Regions from separate parts of the Homo sapiens genome. Here all the other regions are linked to region 3. The links are contacts of gene promoters, found by promoter capture Hi-C in blood cells and fetal thymus (Javierre and others, 2016). All regions are on one chromosome and are shown on one strand. Each heading gives the region's core, a stretch centred on a gene start or on the middle of the fragment in contact. The rest is flanking DNA. Distances are from core to core; before and after follow the strand shown.

Region 1 (2,700 bases), core at 103-2,602, 540 kb after region 3:
CCACATTCCCCCTCGTTTCCCTTTAACTTATTTCTCTCTGCTGATACCTCTGAGGGGCCATCTCCCGTGTCTCCACCCCTTGAAGCAGATCCTCATACAGTGAGAATTGACACATGGGCCTTTGAATAAACATCAGTGATGTGCTTAACTTCATGATAATCTCCCAGAACCGCTTGAAAACAAGCGACTGCCGGTATCAGAAGCCATGCATGAAAAGAGAGCGTAAGGGGCAGGCATTCACTGGCTGAACTGGGGAGCCACATGGGAATTGGGGTCCATAGGACATCTATTTTTGAAATATTTTGAGATATTTGAAGGAAATGGTTTCCCTTACTATCTCAGCATTCAGAGTGTGGGGAAATGTTTTTAATACAGTGGTTTGCAAATCAGTGGATGTGAAGAAGCAAGAAAATGAGATGGCTTCAGCATATCTTTTAAAAGTGATCTCACCTACACTTAAGTGGCTGTCAGATTCTCCTACAGGGCAATGCTGTGTGGCCTTTCACTTCCATCCCCCGCGTCTGAGGCTGATAGTCCAGAATGCTGCTGAGGAAGTGCACGTGGTCTGTCTTTGCTGAACAAAGTGGCAGGCTGGTCAGCAGGTATCGGTGGCTGCCACTGCCCCTCCTCCTTGCTGTGCAGACTCTGCATTCTGCGGGGCTCACGTTCTTTCTCCTTTCAGTCCCCTCCAGGGCAGGTGACTGAGGCCGTGAAGGTGGCCATTGACGTCGGGTACCGCCACATCGACTGTGCCCATGTGTACCAGAATGAGAATGAGGTGGGGGTGGCCATTCAGGAGAAGCTCAGGGAGCAGGTGGTGAAGCGTGAGGAGCTCTTCATCGTCAGCAAGGTATCGTTCCGCGGTGGGGCTGGAAGGGGCTCTCGGTCCCATCATCTGTTGGTGCATCAGCCCAAAGCCAAGTCCACACTCAATACAGCTACACTTTTCACTGATGGGCGATTCTTCCCGGGGAAACGTATCACCCACGGCCATACAGGGCTCCAGAGCTCGCCCATCCTTGGCTCTCTGTTGAATGGTCATTCCATCTGGGCCCATTGCTTAGAGTCCCGTGCTGATGAGGCTGAGGTTGTGGATTGGCCCTCCCTTTCCAGGGAGTCGCTTTCAAGGATGGAACTTGGTTCCCATCTGCAAACTGAATCTCCAGTGCTAGCCACTGTCTTTGACCTGAGATACTGATGCACAAAGGACATGAGGCAGGAGGATGGGGCTGGCTCCACAAACACCAGCCCGGGGGGAAAGTTTCGAGAGTTCTTGCTTAGGCCTAGGGCAGGCTAGCCAATCTGTCCATTCCATTTTGTGTCCTCTGGTCCTTGTAAGAGGTCTCTGTGACCTGGTCATCCTGCCTGCCTTTGGAAAGTTAGGATCCAGTACGCAGTGGAAATGCCCTCACAACCATTCACAGCATCATGGTAAAGCAAATGGGTTTTGGGGAGAGGAGACTGCTCTGTCTTTCCAGCCAGGAAGCTGCCTTGTGGCTGGCAATGATGACATGTGCCCTCTCGCTGGCTTAGCTGTGGTGCACGTACCATGAGAAGGGCCTGGTGAAAGGAGCCTGCCAGAAGACACTCAGCGACCTGAAGCTGGACTACCTGGACCTCTACCTTATTCACTGGCCGACTGGCTTTAAGGTATGGGATGCCTGGTGCAGACCAGGTCCCTTGGGGCTCAGGTGCAACCTGTGGTGTGTTTTGAGCTCCCTTAGCAGATTACGTGTGGGTGACTTTCTGTTCTTGCTGCTCAAGGTATAGCCAGTGGACCATCAGCACTGGCATCACCTGGGAGCGTCTTAGAAATCACAGTCTCGGGCCCCACGCAGGCCATTTGAATCCGCACCAGCAGTGACTCATACGCACACTTCTTCAAAGTTTGAGGAGCACTGCTCTTTGCCAGTTGGTAGATGTGCAATTTAAAACTGTCAGCAAACACAGCTGCTGTCTGTAGTGCACACAGCCATGAGGCACGGTCAGCCCTGGCCCTCCCCTCCAGGCACGTGCACACACCAACCCCCATACACATGAGTCCCTACCCACGTTCTACATGCATACCCTGTCCTGTGGAGGCCCGGTAACTATTTGCAGTCTAGTTGTTGGCACAAGAAGAACTTGAGAGTTACTTTGTCTTTTGCCTTTTTTCTAGCCACTGCCTCAGTTTTCTGCTGTGAGCCAGGTTCAAAGTGTGGGTTTAGCTTTATCCCGTAGCCCTGTTTTATTGCACCACAGCATATCAGGGCTGAAGGGACTTGACTTTTATCTTTTGATTTTAGGGGTAAGCTGGGGAGGCTGGGCCAGGTGGTAGTTTTATAGGCCAGTGACCCGCCAGGCCTTGGGCCCTGTGAGTCCTGGTCTTGAGTCCTTCCTGTATCCACACATTGCAGTCAGTGGCGGGGCTAGTCTCTGTGACCAAGTAGTGTCCATGTCTCCGTCTGACAGTCTCAGCTCCAGCCCGTTTGATAAAGAAGTGTTGGCTATCTGCCTATTTCCTTTTCATAGTGGCACACAGATTATCCCTAGCCAGCTGTGGTGGTTTAGAATTGTTTTAGATGCCAGCTTCCCCCAGCAGGTCTGTGAAGGACTATTACTGATTGTTTTGTTTGTTTGTTTTTTATTGTAATGACAGCCTGGGAAGGAATTTTTCCCATTGGATGAGTCGGGCAATGTGGTTCCCAGTGACACCAACAT
Region 2 (2,700 bases), core at 105-2,604, 550 kb after region 3:
TCTTCCTCTTTTTTTTTTTTTTTTTTTTTTGAGACAGGGTCTTGCTCTGTCACCCAGACTTGAGTGCAGTGATGCGATCATGGCTCACTGCAGCCTCAACTTCCCCAGCTCAAGCAATCCTCCCAGTAAGCTTCCCAAGTAGCTGGGACTACAAGTGTGCACAACCATACCTGGCTTTTTTTTTTCTTAATGTAGAGTCTCACAATGTGGCCCAGGCTGGGCAATAATTTCTTCATGGTGGGGTGAGGGAGGACAGAACAGGCCATTCTAGGTTAGATGTTTCTAAGTTGGGCACAGCATGTGTAAAGCCTGTTCGTTCCTGGGACTGTGTGGAGGGCAGATGATATTCCTACCAAAAAGAAAGCAGGTGAAAAGTTAGATAACATGAAGAGTTGAAGGAAGTACGTAGCTCCAACTACTGTGTGGTAGAATTCTTCCCTGACCCCAGCACCTGCCCTCTCGATGTATGTGATTCAAATGCTGCTTGGCTAGAATGGGATATACACCAGCTGGTCTCTGCCGGGTCCCTGGCCTGCCTTCCTCACCAGAACATCCCTGACAGTGCCTAGGCAGTCTGGGTGCGCTTGGTCCTACAGCAAGGACCGGTAGGCTTCCGAGCACCATGGCCAAGCAAAGGGGGCGAAGGAAGCCTCGGTCATCGAGTTCAGCCTGTGTGAGCAAAAGGAAGTCCCCATCCACACTCGCCACTCCCCGTCCTTAGCCTCCTGAGCTTATAGTGTGGTGTATGCTTCCCCCTTCTGGCCACAAATGGTCAACAATGATTTTTGGTAATCCCTGGTGGGAGGCCCTGCTTACTGCTGGGAAGTGGACCTTCCTAGTAACAGCGACGACAATGATACTGTTGCCAGAGCTATTGATGGAAGTGGTACAATCCAATAGGTGCAGTAAAAAGCCCTTTACATACACTGTCTCATTTAATCCTCAAAGCCAGGGGTCCCCAACTCCCGGGGCCACAGACCGGTACCAGTCCATGGCCTGTTAGGAACGGGGCCGCACAGCAGGAGGCGTGCGATGGGCGAGCGAGCAGAGCTTCATCTGTTTTTACAGCCACTCCCCTCTCGCATTACCGCCTGAGCTCCGCTTCCTGTCGGGTCAGCAGCGGCATTAGCGTCTCATAGGAGCATGAACCCTACTGTGAACTGCGCATGCGAGGGATCTAGGCTGCGCGCTCCTTATGAGAATCTAACGCCTGATGACCTATCACTGTCTCCCATCACTCCCAGATGGGACCGTCTAGTTGCAGGAAAACAAGCTCAGGGCTCCCACTGATTCTACATTATGGTGAGTTGTATAATTATCTCATTATGTATTAAAATGTAATAATAATATCCCGAAACCACCTCCCCACCGCCAGGTCTGTGGAAAAATTGTTTTCCACAAAACCAGTTCCCGGTGCCAAAAATGTTGGAGACTGCTGCTCAAAGCAATTTTGTAAGGGATGTATTATTATCCCCACTAAACAGAAGACAAACTAAGACACAGCAGTTAAATGACTTGTGCAAAATACGTGCTGATAAACGCAGCAGGGCGGGGGTTCACGCCTAGGTGTGTCAGGCTTCAAAGTCCGCGCTCTGGGCCACTGTGAACATTCCCGTTTCTGACGGGCTGTATTCTGGGTGGGGTATCCTCTGTCAACAGAGACATCTGTCAGACCATTCCTGCCCTTTTACTTCCATCAGTCCACATTCTGGCATCTTCCGTGTCATTTTTCCTCTTCACTTCTTGTGCTCCTCGGCAGATCTATGACCATCCCAGCCTCTTTCTTTTCTTCCTGATCTTTGGGCAATTCGCCTCCCTCCTGCTTGCTTCAAACATTCACTCTTGTGCAGCAGTTCTTTTCTTATTTATTTATTTTTTGAGATAGAGTCTCACTCTGTCGCCCAGCCTGGAGTGCAGTGGCGCTATATCGGCTCACTGCCACCTCCGCTTCCCAGGTTCAAGCGATTCTCTTGCCTCAGCCTTCTGAGTAGCTGGGATTATAGGCACCTGCCACCACACCCGGCTAATTTTTGTATTTTTAGTAGAGATGGGGTTTCGCCATGTTGGCCAGGCTGGTCTTGAACTCCTGACCTCAAGCCATCTGCCCGCCTTGGCCTCCCAAAGTGCTGGGATTACAGGTGTGAGCCACCGTGCATGGCCCATGCAGCAGTTCTTAAACTGGCACCCACAAGAGGTCTGGATTGAATCCGAGAGGTCTGTGAACATGGACATGGAAAATATTACATTCTATCGTGAATATAGAGAACAGAAGTGGGGCCTGTAACTTTGTCACAAATAGAAAGTCACAGCTCTTGCTATATCCCATTACTGTTACTAGGAATATCTCACGATGTCATCTATGTGCATCACTACTTTGAAATTACCAGAGTTATTAAACCTGTCACTAGACCTGTTATTTAGTCGTTAATAAAAAGCCTATATATTATCATATTACAAATTTGGTTTTTAAAAATATTGTGATAGCAGTCTTTCAAAACTAAAGAATTCCTTGGTAATCTTGTGTGTTTAATTTTATGTACTTAAAAACATTTTTCTTAGAAGGGCTCCAAAAGCTTCCGCAGCTTGCCAAGGGGATCCTGGCATGAAAAATGATGAAAAGAAAACACACTATCCTTGATTTTATGCCAGCTTTGCACCTCCTGACCCAGCCCATATAATGTAACAGTGACCCCCTGTAAG
Region 3 (2,700 bases), core at 52-2,551:
AAAAATATATTCAATTGTATTTAACAGTCACAACAGTCTTCTCTAAAAACTAATTAGAATACAACTAATAAAACCTTCAATTTCAAAGAGTTAAAGGAATTTTCCATGACTATACGAGACAACAACCACAATAAGACAAATCAAGCAAATCATTTAATTAAAAGGAATTTCCAGAGTATACAGCCAAATCATTCACATTTTATATTTACAATTAAATACTACACAGCAAGTTCAGAATGATCCTGAGGCATTAAAAGATAATGAATTTAAAAATTATAGTCACTTACTGAAATGTAGCAATATAATTTTAAGTTTTCTCCTTGATTTTCACTTGACCAAAAGTTCAAGTGACAAGACTTTACATTTTGATTATTATTCTGTAGATACTGTCTGTTCTAATATTCATTTATATTATTCTTATTCTTAGAAATCTAAATAGCTACCAGAAGGTTGTATTGGTAATGACCATTACCATTCTATGCAAGTATCTTCCCATGTGGGTAATATCAAGACCAGGGAATAATCGAAATTTCTTGTCAAGTTCCCATCGTTCTTGAGAGACCAAAGGACTCGACAATTTCAAATCTATTAGTTTACGCCCCTCTCTACAGGAAGCGTGTTTTGGAGCGTGGACTACATATAAGTTAAGTCCAAGCTCTATGGCAAATCACTGCCAATGCCACGGAACCGACTGTCTCATAGATGACACCTTCAGTCCTAAGAAACTGAAGTTTCTGCCTGGGCATCACAACTCCACATTTGGAAAATCCGACTGGCCTAAATTCCATTCCTTACAGGTGCACACAGGGCGCACGAAGTGCTGACCTGCTGCGGATACAGCTCTGGTCTCAGGAAACGGCCCTTATCCACCGGCGCTCCGCGGGTGTCTTCCACCACTGCGGAGGAGGGGCAGATGCGGGCGCGTCCACGCTTAGCCGCGTCCCGACAGTACCAAGGCGTTTTTGGCGGGAAGCACGATGAGGCCACAACTCCGGGCGGCCGAGTTCCTTCCCGCACTCACTCCTGGACACCTTGGTGTGGGGAGGCGCTCATTTTCCGGGGCGCGCTCGCTTCCCGCAGGGGGCGCCCCGCCTTACTTCTGCATACCTCACCGTCCTGTCGGGGCCGGCACCTCGCTCCCACGCGAGTCCTCTGGCCAGGCCAGTCGTCGCTTCCGTGCGGGGAGAATATCTCGGGATCTCGCGATCTCGCGGAGAACCCGGTATCCAGCCGCTAGAAGTAACGCCACTGCTGGAGATCCGCAGCCCCAGCCACACTCCCAACTCTCGTCATCAGGCAACGGGTCCGCCCTCGCGAGACTTCGGACAGCCTTCGGAGATCACCTAGCAACCAGCTCGGAGGAAAGGAGCCTGCGTAGGTTTTGGCTCCAGGAAGAGGGATCCCAGAGGATGCCGGGAACTCGGGGTGGGCCGCAGGGCGGTCAGAGAGGCTCTCAGAGAGGCTTTGGGGTCTGTCGGGAGAATTTAGGAGTGGGGAAGACCGGGCAGCTATTTATTCCCAGTGGTCTGCACTTCGGCTGTTGCCTCAGAGGAGGCAGTAGAGCATGCTGGTTAGGACTGTGCTTTGGAGCCCACCTGACTTTTAACAGTGTGACATTGAACAAATTAATTACCTGGACTTCATGGGTACAATACTTGTAACTACTACTTGGAGATGTTAGAATATTAAAAAGTACGTTGGTCTTGATTTTTTACAGACTGAGTTCCATTCTACACAATTGTGCGATTAATTCGCTTATTCGATTCTGGAAAATGAGGCTTTTCTCCTTAAATACTAAATGGAGAGTCATAGATGAACTAGGGTGAATTCTCAAAATTATCAGCTCAGAGATTCTTTATAGCAATCGTCAGCTAGCATATTTAACACTGTTTTCCTGATGACTGCAAATCACTATATGTAGTCTCATTTAGTTAACAGACGTTATTCATGAACATCCCATATTGATTTTTTCCCTCATCTTTAGCTCTACAGGGTAAGGTAATCTATTTGGAAAAGTTTTCCAAGTACAGCTGAAAAAAAGTCTAGATTTTGATGATATAAGAATGTAAATAAACACTTTTCACAAAGCGTTATATGTCATGAGATTCGTGATATTGTAGAAATGGAGATAATAAATGGTAGCAAGTTTGAAAGTAGAATAAAGGGCAAAGCACTATGGCTTAAGCATGGAAATGGGTTAACATAATCTCTTTGTATTTTGTAAGTATCTGAAAATAGGTGTTTTTGAGGTCAGCAGTTTAAAAGTATGAACCTTCCAGATTAGACCTTGGCCAGAGAATATTAATAGAGTATATCTTAGATCAACCTCTTGAAAAGTAGCTCTTATAGTTGAAGCTTGTTTTATGCCATACATAAATCACTAAAGGTGACATGCACAGAGAAATCTTTATTTATGTAATCTGTTTTTCTGTTGGATTTTAGTCATGGCTGCAAGCCATAGGATGTCAGCTGTACAAGGTAAAACTGAGAAATGGTCTAACCAGGTTATATAAGAAATTAATGGCAGGGCTGAGAGACTTAAGTCTCGTGATTTTTAGTCCAAATAGTTATATTATCACATACCAAGTAGTCCATGGGAAGAAAAATGATCTTAATGCATAATTTTAAAAACTTAGGATTTTTTTTTTTTTTTTGAGACAGAATCTCACTTGCTCTGTCGCCCAGGCTGGAGTGCTGTGG

What was found. Contacts are between HindIII fragments. The CHiCAGO score rates a contact against its expected background, and 5 or more counts as called.
Region 1: a contact is called between a fragment that was not itself captured here and the fragment with the promoter of AGBL3 in region 3, in 6 of 17 cell types (non-activated CD4 T cells, naive CD4 T cells, total CD4 T cells and 3 more). The highest score is 7.4, in non-activated CD4 T cells.
Region 2: a contact is called between a fragment that was not itself captured here and the fragment with the promoter of AGBL3 in region 3, in 2 of 17 cell types (naive B cells and total B cells). The highest score is 5.4, in naive B cells.

The regions. Positions count from the first base shown.
Region 1 is chr7:134,449,736-134,452,435 of GRCh38, reverse strand. AKR1B1 (aldo-keto reductase family 1 member B) reads left to right here. Exons shown (of 10, transcript NM_001628.4): 2 at 683-850; 3 at 1,534-1,650; 4 at 2,639-2,700. Among named protein-coding and RNA genes, the nearest start is that of AKR1B1, 8.0 kb to the left of the region's middle. The HindIII fragment of the contact is 5,053 bases long and covers 1-2,700 here.
Region 2 is chr7:134,430,916-134,433,615 of GRCh38, reverse strand. It overlaps LINC03060 (long intergenic non-protein coding RNA 3060), which reads left to right and starts at 1,196. Exons shown (of 3, transcript NR_183392.1): 1 at 1,196-1,302. The HindIII fragment of the contact is 2,443 bases long and covers 133-2,575 here.
Region 3 is chr7:134,985,109-134,987,808 of GRCh38, reverse strand. AGBL3 (AGBL carboxypeptidase 3) reads right to left here and starts at 1,301. Exons shown (of 17, transcript NM_178563.4): 1 at 1,108-1,301. RefSeq lists enhancers at 610-869, 950-1,089, 1,100-1,399. The HindIII fragment of the contact is 3,121 bases long and covers 1-2,357 here.